3 separate regions of the Homo sapiens genome follow, and regions 1 and 2 are each linked to region 3. Evidence: promoter capture Hi-C in human tissues and cell types (Jung and others, 2019). All regions are on one chromosome and are shown on one strand. Each heading gives the region's core, a stretch centred on a gene start or on the middle of the fragment in contact. The rest is flanking DNA. Distances are from core to core; before and after follow the strand shown. Region 1 overlaps RIDA (reactive intermediate imine deaminase A). Region 2 overlaps MTDH (metadherin). Region 3 holds the start of MATN2 (matrilin 2).

Evidence for each region. Contacts are between HindIII fragments. The study calls those that stand out against the background at their distance.
Region 1: a fragment that was not itself captured here is called in contact with the fragment with the promoter of MATN2 in region 3 in 3 of the 25 tissues and cell types used here (liver, mesendoderm cells and thymus).
Region 2: a fragment that was not itself captured here is called in contact with the fragment with the promoter of MATN2 in region 3 in 1 of the 25 tissues and cell types used here (heart right ventricle).

What each region holds. Positions count from the first base shown.
Region 1 is chr8:98,105,637-98,108,391 of GRCh38, reverse strand. RIDA (reactive intermediate imine deaminase A) reads left to right here. Exons shown (of 6, transcript NM_005836.3): 3 at 2,066-2,120; 4 at 2,386-2,454. Among named protein-coding and RNA genes, the nearest start is that of RIDA, 10 kb to the left of the region's middle. The HindIII fragment of the contact is 4,745 bases long and covers 1-2,755 here.
Region 2 is chr8:97,649,054-97,651,810 of GRCh38, reverse strand. All of the region lies in intron 1 of MTDH (metadherin), which reads right to left. Among named protein-coding and RNA genes, the nearest start is that of MTDH, 6.2 kb to the right of the region's middle. The HindIII fragment of the contact is 5,862 bases long and covers 1-2,757 here.
Region 3 is chr8:97,867,725-97,870,479 of GRCh38, reverse strand. It overlaps MATN2 (matrilin 2), which reads right to left and starts at 1,416. Exons shown (of 19, transcript NM_002380.5): 1 at 1,193-1,416. RefSeq lists an enhancer at 1,816-2,315. The HindIII fragment of the contact is 19,586 bases long and covers 1-2,755 here.

The sequences.
Region 1 (2,755 bases), core at 207-2,706, 240 kb before region 3:
GATGACATGTTGCCACTTCCACATGGATTGGGAAATTTTCTTCTCAGGGCCACTGACCTGCCCCTCTTCAAAAAAAAAAAAAAATTACCACCACAGAAGTAAAAAGTCAACATTTTTAAAAATAAGAATGGGGAATATAATTTTAATCCAATAAATATAATTAAACCATAATTTAGGCCAGGCACGATGTGGCTCACACCTGTAATCCTAGCACTTTGGGAGGCCGAGGCTGGCAGATCACTTGAGGTCAGGAGTTCAAGACTAGCCTAGACAACATGGTGAAACCCCATCTCTACTAAAAATACAAAAATTAGTTGGGGGAGGCCAGGCACAATGGCTCACACCTGTAATCCCAGCACTTTGGGAGGCCGAGGCGGGCAGATCACCTGAGGTCAGGAGTTCAAGACCAGCCTGGCCAACATGGTGAAACCCCGTCTCTACTGAAAATACAAAAATTAGCCAGGTGTGGTGGCATGTGCCTGTAGTCCCAGCTACTCGGGAGGCTAAGGCATGAGAATCGTTTGAACCCGGAAGGCGGAGGTTGCAGTGAGCTGAGATTGTGCCACTCCACTCTAGCCTGGGCAACAGAGCAAGAACCCTGTCTCAAAAAAAAAATAGAAAAAAAAAGTAACCCAGTCAGGTGGCACATGCCTGTAGTCCCAGTTACTCAGGAGGCTGATGCAGAAGAATCGCTTAAACCTGGGAGGTGGAAGTTGCAGGAAGCCAAGATCGTGCCACTGCACTCCTGCCTGGGACACAGAGCAAGACACTGTCTCAAAAAATAAAATAAAATAAAACAATAAACTATAATTTACTGCATTTACTGAGTCATATAATGCTGAAAGTTTGTTTTGTTTTGTTTTGTTTCTTGAGACAGCCTTGCTCTGTCGCCCAGGCTGGAGTGCAGTGTCGTGATCTCAGCTCACTGCAACCTCTGTCTTCCAGGTTCAAGCAATTCTCTTGCCTCAGCCTCCCAAGTAACTGGGACTACAGGCACACGCCACCACACCTGGCTTATTTTTTGTATTTTTAGTAGAGACGGGGTTTTACCGTGCTAGCCAGGATGGTCTCGATCTCCTGACCTCATGATCCACCCACCTCAGCCTCCCAAAGTGCTGAGATTACAGGCATGAGCCTCCACACCCGGCCTAGCTGAAAGATTTTTAAAAACCTAAATATCCACTCATAAAGAACTGGTTGAATAAATTATGCTAGATCAATACAACTAAAGTAATGTGGAAAGATCTCCGAGGTAAATTGTTCCATGGTAATAAAACCAAGATGCAGAACAACATGCACAGTATGCTACCATGTGTGCTTGTGTGTTTAAAAATATGTAACATAAGCATTGACTGTACCTAGAAGGATATACAATAAATTAGGAACAGTGGTTACCTCTGAGGAGGGAAACTTGGGAGAGGGAGAGAGGGGTGAGAGATATCTTTACACGGTATATGCTTTTTTAATAGCTTTTGAGTTTTTTTGTTGTTGTTGTTGCCATATCCATGTATTACCTATTTAGAAGATTATTTTAAAAGACACAAGAATATAATGAAATATTGCATTGTGACCAGCAAAGTGGGAAGAGTGAATCCAAAAAAAGATAAATGTTTTTCCAGAAGCCAGTGTCTCCAACTGTTATATAATTTACTAATATTGTTTTTTTGAGAAAAAGGAAAAAGAACCCTTTGAAGTCAAATATTGCTTTAAAAGAAAATATGTTTTAATGCTTACTAGCTCATCCTTATCCTTGACGTGATATCGAATGAAGAACACCAGAAATTATTTCTGTGGACATTGGCTGAACAATTAACACATTTTAGCACTGAAGAAGGAACTTCAACCTAGTCTTTTTACGCACAAAAGGAGACAACATTTTCACCATATATCAGAAAGACTCATTCTATTAAAGGAAAGCCAAGAAACACACTTGTAAGCGAGTAGGGAGGATTTTTCTGCAACATAGGCTATTTAAGGAGGTATTAGTAAAAGATGATTAATTGAATTTAATTAAAGCTTTAAATCTAACATCAGTGACTTAGGCCTTTCTTGGCTTGGTTCACAGGCTCTTAAAAACATGGGTGAAATTCTGAAAGCTGCAGGCTGTGACTTCACTAACGGTGAGCAATTTGATATTATTTCACATTTCTTTTTGATATTTCTTTGGTCTTTTTGAAAAATATATGGCATCCAGTAAGATGCCGTGCCATATCTTTGTTGCTATTTAAAAGTTGTTTTAAATAGCAACTGTTCTACTTCACTTCTTTGGTCCCATTTCAGTCCCATTTTAATCAAGACAGTCTCAGATTCATACACTCTTTTTCTAAGTAATGTTTTGGGTCAGACCAAATAACTAAACCTAATGACAATGTTTATATCTTCTAGTGGTGAAAACAACTGTTCTTCTGGCTGACATAAATGACTTCAATACTGTCAATGAAATCTACAAACAGTGTAAGTAATTTGGCTTTATTCCTATTTTCCATTTTTAAAAAGAAAGAAATCTGGTCACATTAATGAATGTGCATTATGAATTAAGAGTGGTAGGAGATGCTAAAGAAATGGTCATAGATCTTAAAAGAATTAATAATCTGATTGGAAATATGTTGTATACCCCCCATGAAAAAGTTCTAAGACATTTCTATTGCATTCCCTAAAACAATATACTGAAATCCTACATATCCATTTTTCAAAAGCTTAATTTCATTAAATCCTTCTCAGGCTTTTTAAACTCTCCTAACAAGTTTTTTATGCA
Region 2 (2,757 bases), core at 196-2,695, 220 kb after region 3:
TAATTTTTAAAAAGTTTGAGATACGTATCAGACTCCCAATCAGAGAAATCAAGCATACATGTAGACATGAGGTTCTGGAGATGACAGAACAGTCTAGATACAGATAGGGACTAATATACAGTTGTTCCCCATTATTAATGGATTCTGTATTGGTGAATTTATCTTTTCACTAAAATTTATTTGTTACTCCAAAATCAATACTTGAGGTACTTTCACGGTCATTTCTGGACACGCACATGCACAGAGCTGCAAAGTCACTCTGCAGGCACATTCCCAGCTGAGGTCAAGCCTCCACCTTCTTATTTCAGCTCTCATCACTGTAAATAAGTATCCTTTCTGAGGACTATTTAGTGTCACATATTTTGCATTTTTTGGGTGCTTTTTGTTAGTGATTTTGCTGTTTATAATGGTCCCCAACTGTAGTGCTGAAGTGCTGCTGAGCATTCCTAAGCATAAGAAGGCTGTGATATACCTTACAAAGAAAATAATGCATTAGATAAGCTTTGTTCAGGCATGAGTTCTAGTGCTATTGGCCGTGAGTTCAATGATATGAATCAATTAAATTAAATGTCTTTAAACAGAAACACTCATAAAACAAGACCATGTATTGTATATGGTATTGGTGAAAATATTGTGACCAGAGGCTTGGACCTAATTTTGCACTTTCCCTAGGAGCACTAGTTTAGTACTTGCTAATTCAGTGGGAACTTTATAGAACTTCTGCAGATAAAGAAAATCAACTATGCTGATCTGTTCCAGTACTATTTATAACATACCTTTTATGTGTGTGACCACTAGTAATGCGTTTTGTGCTCCTAATATGGATAATGGGCAGACACTCAGATACTTGCTGAATGACTATTAGAACCAAATGAAATGGTGATATTAGACCATTCTAATCTAAACAATATGGCATAGCCAGGTGTGGTGGTGTGTGCCTGTGGTCCCAGGTAGTCGGGAGGCTGAGGTGGGAGGATCGCTTGAGCCTGAGAGGCGGAGGTTGCAGAGAGCCAAGATCACACCACTGCACTCCAGCGTGGGTGACAGTGAGACCCCAGCTCAAAAAATAAATAAATAAATAAATTTTTAAAAGGCAATTCCATAGTTTCCACTAAACACGAAACATTATGCTAGGTGTTACAATATATAACTCTAGCTGAGGAGCTAGGGAAGGCTTTACAGTTGAAGCAGCACTGCAGCTGGGCCTTGAAGGACAGGTGGAAATTGGTAGAGAGAGGCTGGGCACAGTGACTAACGCTTGTAATTCCAGCACTTTGGGAGGCCTAGGCAGGTGGAGTACTTGAGCTTAGCAGTTCAAGACCAGTCTAGGCAACATAGCAAAACGCCATCTCTACAAAAAATTCAAAAATTAGCTGGGCATGGTGGTGTGCGTCTGTAGTCCCAGCTACTCAGGAGGCTGAGGTGGGAGAGTCGCTTGAGCCTGGGAGGTTGAGGTTGCAGTGAGCCAAGATTACGCCACTGCACTCCAGCCTGGTTGACACAGCCAGACCCTGTTTCGAAAAGAAATTTAAAAATAAAAATAAGAAAAGAAACTGGCCGGGCCTGGTGGCTCATGCCTGTAATCCCAGCACTTTGGGAGGCTGAGGCAGGCGGATCACGAGGTCAGGAAATCGAGACCATCCTGGCTAACACGGTGAAACCCCATCTCCACTAAAAATACAAAAAATTAGCTGGGCATGGTGGTGGGCGCCTGTAGTCCCAGCTACTCAGGAGGCTGAGGCAGGAGAACGTGCGTGAACCCGGGAGGTGGAGTTTGCAGTGAGCTGAGATCGCACCACTGCACTCCAGCCTGGGCGACAGAGTGACACTCCGTTTCAAAAAGAAAAGAAAAGAAAAGAAATTGGTAGAGAGATAGAAAGAAGGGTCTTTTAATAGATAAAAATAATGGCCGGGGGCAGTGGCTCATGCCTGTAATCCCAGCACTTTGGGAGGCTGAGGCAGGTGGACTGCCTGAGCTCAGGAGTTTGAGTCCATGCGTGGGCAACATGGTGAAACTCCATCTCTACAAAAAGTACAAAAATAACCAGGTGTGGTATCGTGCACCTGTAATCCCAGCCACTCGAGGGGCTGAGGTGGGAGGAATGCTTGAGTCTGGGAAGTGGAAGCTGCAGTGAGCTGTGTTCACACCACTGCACTCCAGCCTGGGACAAAGTGAGACTCTGGTCTCCAAAAACAACAACAACAAAAATGAAAATAATCATAAATAAAGAGACACAGAAATCTAGCTAAGCAGAATTATTTCTTGTCTTAGGAGTAATGGTGAGAGACAAGCCTAAGGTAGGGTTAGATCATGAAGAGACTCGAGTGCCATGTCATGAATTTTGCATTTTATTCAACAGGTGATGGGGAAACTACTGAAAGGATGTGAACATCAAAGTCACATGATCAGGGTTGGGCTTCAAAAGACTCTACTCACACGAGTGGGTAGAAAAGATTGGCAAAAAAGAAACTGGAAGCAGGAAAACTAGTTAGGATGATGTTAGAACAGTCTAAACAAAAGGTAATAAAGTCCTAAAGTAGGGCAGTGGCAGTGAAACTGGAACAGAAGTAATGACTACAAAAGACACTGCATACTATTAGAATACAGTCATACACTGCTTAATGAGAATACATTCTGAGAAATGCATCTTTGTGCAAACATCACATAGTATACTGACACAAACCTAGGCTACAAACCTGTACAGCATGTTGCTGTACTGAATACTGTGGCAACTGTAACACAATGGTAAGTGTTTG
Region 3 (2,755 bases), core at 167-2,666:
ATGGCACCATCTCCGCTCACTGCAATCTCTGCCTCCTGGGTTCAACCGATTCTCCTGCCTCAACCTCCCGAGTAGCTGGGATTACAGGCATGCGCCACCAAGTCCGGCTAATTTTGTATTTTTAGTAGAGACGGGGTTTCTCCATGTTGGTCAGGCTGGTCTCGAACTCCCGACCTCAGGTGATCCGCCCGCCCCGGCTTCCCAAAGTGCTGGGATGACAGCCCTGAGCCACCGTGCCCGGCCGCCATATCTCATTTAATCCTCACAGTTCTGTGGGTATTACCATCCTCATTAGACAGATGAGGAAACTGAGGCATACTTGGGTACCTTCAAGTTATCAACCCTGTAAACTTCACAGCTGGGGTTGAAACCCAAGCAGGCTGACCCCAGTCTCTGCTCTCGACCACGGGTCCCTGAAGTCTCTTGACTGCCCCATTCCTTAAAGGCCGATTTTAAGTGTGCTTGGTGCAGATGCATTGTGGCTTCCTGATTTATGACAAATTGAAACTTGGTCAATTGGGTTTGTTCAGGGTGGGCGCGAGTGTCCCTGAGGAGAGCACTTTCCTGTGCCCCCAGTCCTGGAGACCCTACCAGGGACAGTCCCCATTTCTCTGTCCTCTCCCCAAACGGCTCCAAATTGTTCTGGGGTTTCTAGCAACTACCACAAAATGCCTTCCCCTTTCTCTCCCTCTTCCACAATATAGGGAAGCTGGAGGTTTAGCTGCCATAGAGACCCAAGAACAAAATCCAGATGACACGGGCATGAAAATACCAGGTTCCGAAGAGGGAAGGGGGAGCCATCGGCTGTCCGTGGAATAGGAATCACCCTGCATACCCGCTCAACAGGTCTCCCTTTCCCTGGGTCGCGGTGGCCGGGGTCTGGGCGTCCCCGCTGCGTGCCACAGCGCCCCCACGGGGCACTCCGGGGCGGCTGCAGCGCGGCTTGTCCTGCGCAGGGAGCGCGCCCAGCTCTCCCGGCCGAGGGGTCGGGCAGCGCCGCCCTCCCTCTCCCCCTGTCCTCGGAGGGGTCGAAGGCGCCGGGGCCCCGGGGCGCTGGGGGCTGCAGTGCGGGCCTGGGGAGGGCGCCTGCGCGTCGGGCAGCCCAGGCTCGGTATTCTGTCGGTGGGTCGGTCCGCCTGCACTTCGAGGCCGCCCGGCCGCGCAGAGCCGGGGGAAAGCGCGCCGCGCTCACCTGCAGCCGCCGGCGCCTGGGAAGCGAGGCAGGGGCGCAGCCACCCGGGTCTTCCTCGTCGGCCTCTTCGCCTCGCCGAGGGCCGCGGCTCTCCTCGGGGATCGCTCGTGGGAGGCGAGGACGGAGCCCCAGCTTCTGCCTCTGCCTCTGTCTCCGCCGCCGCCGCTTGCTCCAAGTCCCATCCCAGAGCGCTCCCTTCGCTCGCTGGCTGCCTGGGAGGCGCTGGGCAAGGGCGGGCGGCTGGGGAGGCGGTGCCGCGGCGGGGGTGGGGAGCGGGCCGGGCGGAAGGAGGGGTGTCCTCTTTGGGGATGGGGAAGGCGCGGAGAGGGAGCGGCGGCGAGGGCGGCCCCACCCTGTGGGCAGCCCCGGGAGCTGGGCACTCTGGCGGCGCGCCCTGCCTGCTGCCACCTGGCTCCACTCCGTCCGTGCCTGAGCCCAGGCGGGCATCAGACTCCAGGGGTCCGGAGCCGCAGGCACGGAACACAGGCAGCTTTAGGGGCCTGTCGGGTTGGGAGTGCGGGGAGGGGTCTTCTGGGGGAAAGGAGACATGGCAGGAATCTTACATCTAGAACTTGGGGTCATGACCTGCGGGACGCACCCACTGACGCGGGGATGGAGAAAAAAGTGGTGAGAATTGGGCTAATTGATGACAAGCGCCAAGAGCTGTCTTGCCAGTGCCCAGAGCACCCCACCAGTGCCAGTTCATATTAACAGAGCGTCCACTGGCTGGGGACCAGGCCCCGGGATGGGGAGGAGGTAAAGATGCCAGGATGGAGAGGAGACAAAATTCCTACCCCGAGGGAGCAGGGAAAGTCTAGTTCAGACAAGACTTTTGAAATTATGAGCAGAGACATTTGCAACTTTGCAGAATGGAGGAACCTCACCTTGGATGTCCCCATGGAGCCTTGGAGGGATGCAGAAGACAGGATTGGCCAGCGACAGTCAAAGTGGCCGGCACCCCCCTCTACCAGCTCCCCAGTTCCTGGAGGCTGGGGTGAGTGGATGTATAACAGACCAGGACATCTCCTATAAAGCTCCAAAATTCTGTTCCCAAACCACTAGCCAACGCACCCAGTTCAGGTTTTGTGTTTTTGTTTGTTTGTTTGTTTTTTGAGACGGAGTCGCCCAGGCTGGAGTGCAGTGGCGCAATCTTGGCTTACTGCAAGCTCTGCCTCCCGGATTCACGCCATTCTCCTGCCTCAGAGTAGCTGGGACTACAGGCTCCCGCCACCACGGCCGGCTAATTTTTTTTGTATTTTCAGTAGAGACGGGGTTTCACCGTGTTAGCCAGGATGGTGTCGATCTCCTGACCTCGTGATCCGCCCGCCTCGGCCTCCCAAAGTGCTGGGATTACAGGCGTGAGCCACTGCGCCCGGCCCCAGTTCAGGTTTTAACAAGCTACCAGCAGAGGCAGCAGCACTAACTAGTTTCAAAACCTCTGGATGTGCCACAGTCTGATAATTTGGTGCTTTGGGCGGACTTTGTTTTGTAATTAACCATCATTCCTATTTGATGATAGAGTTGATTTCTGAAATATGAATAAACGCCAAAATCAATTCTTCA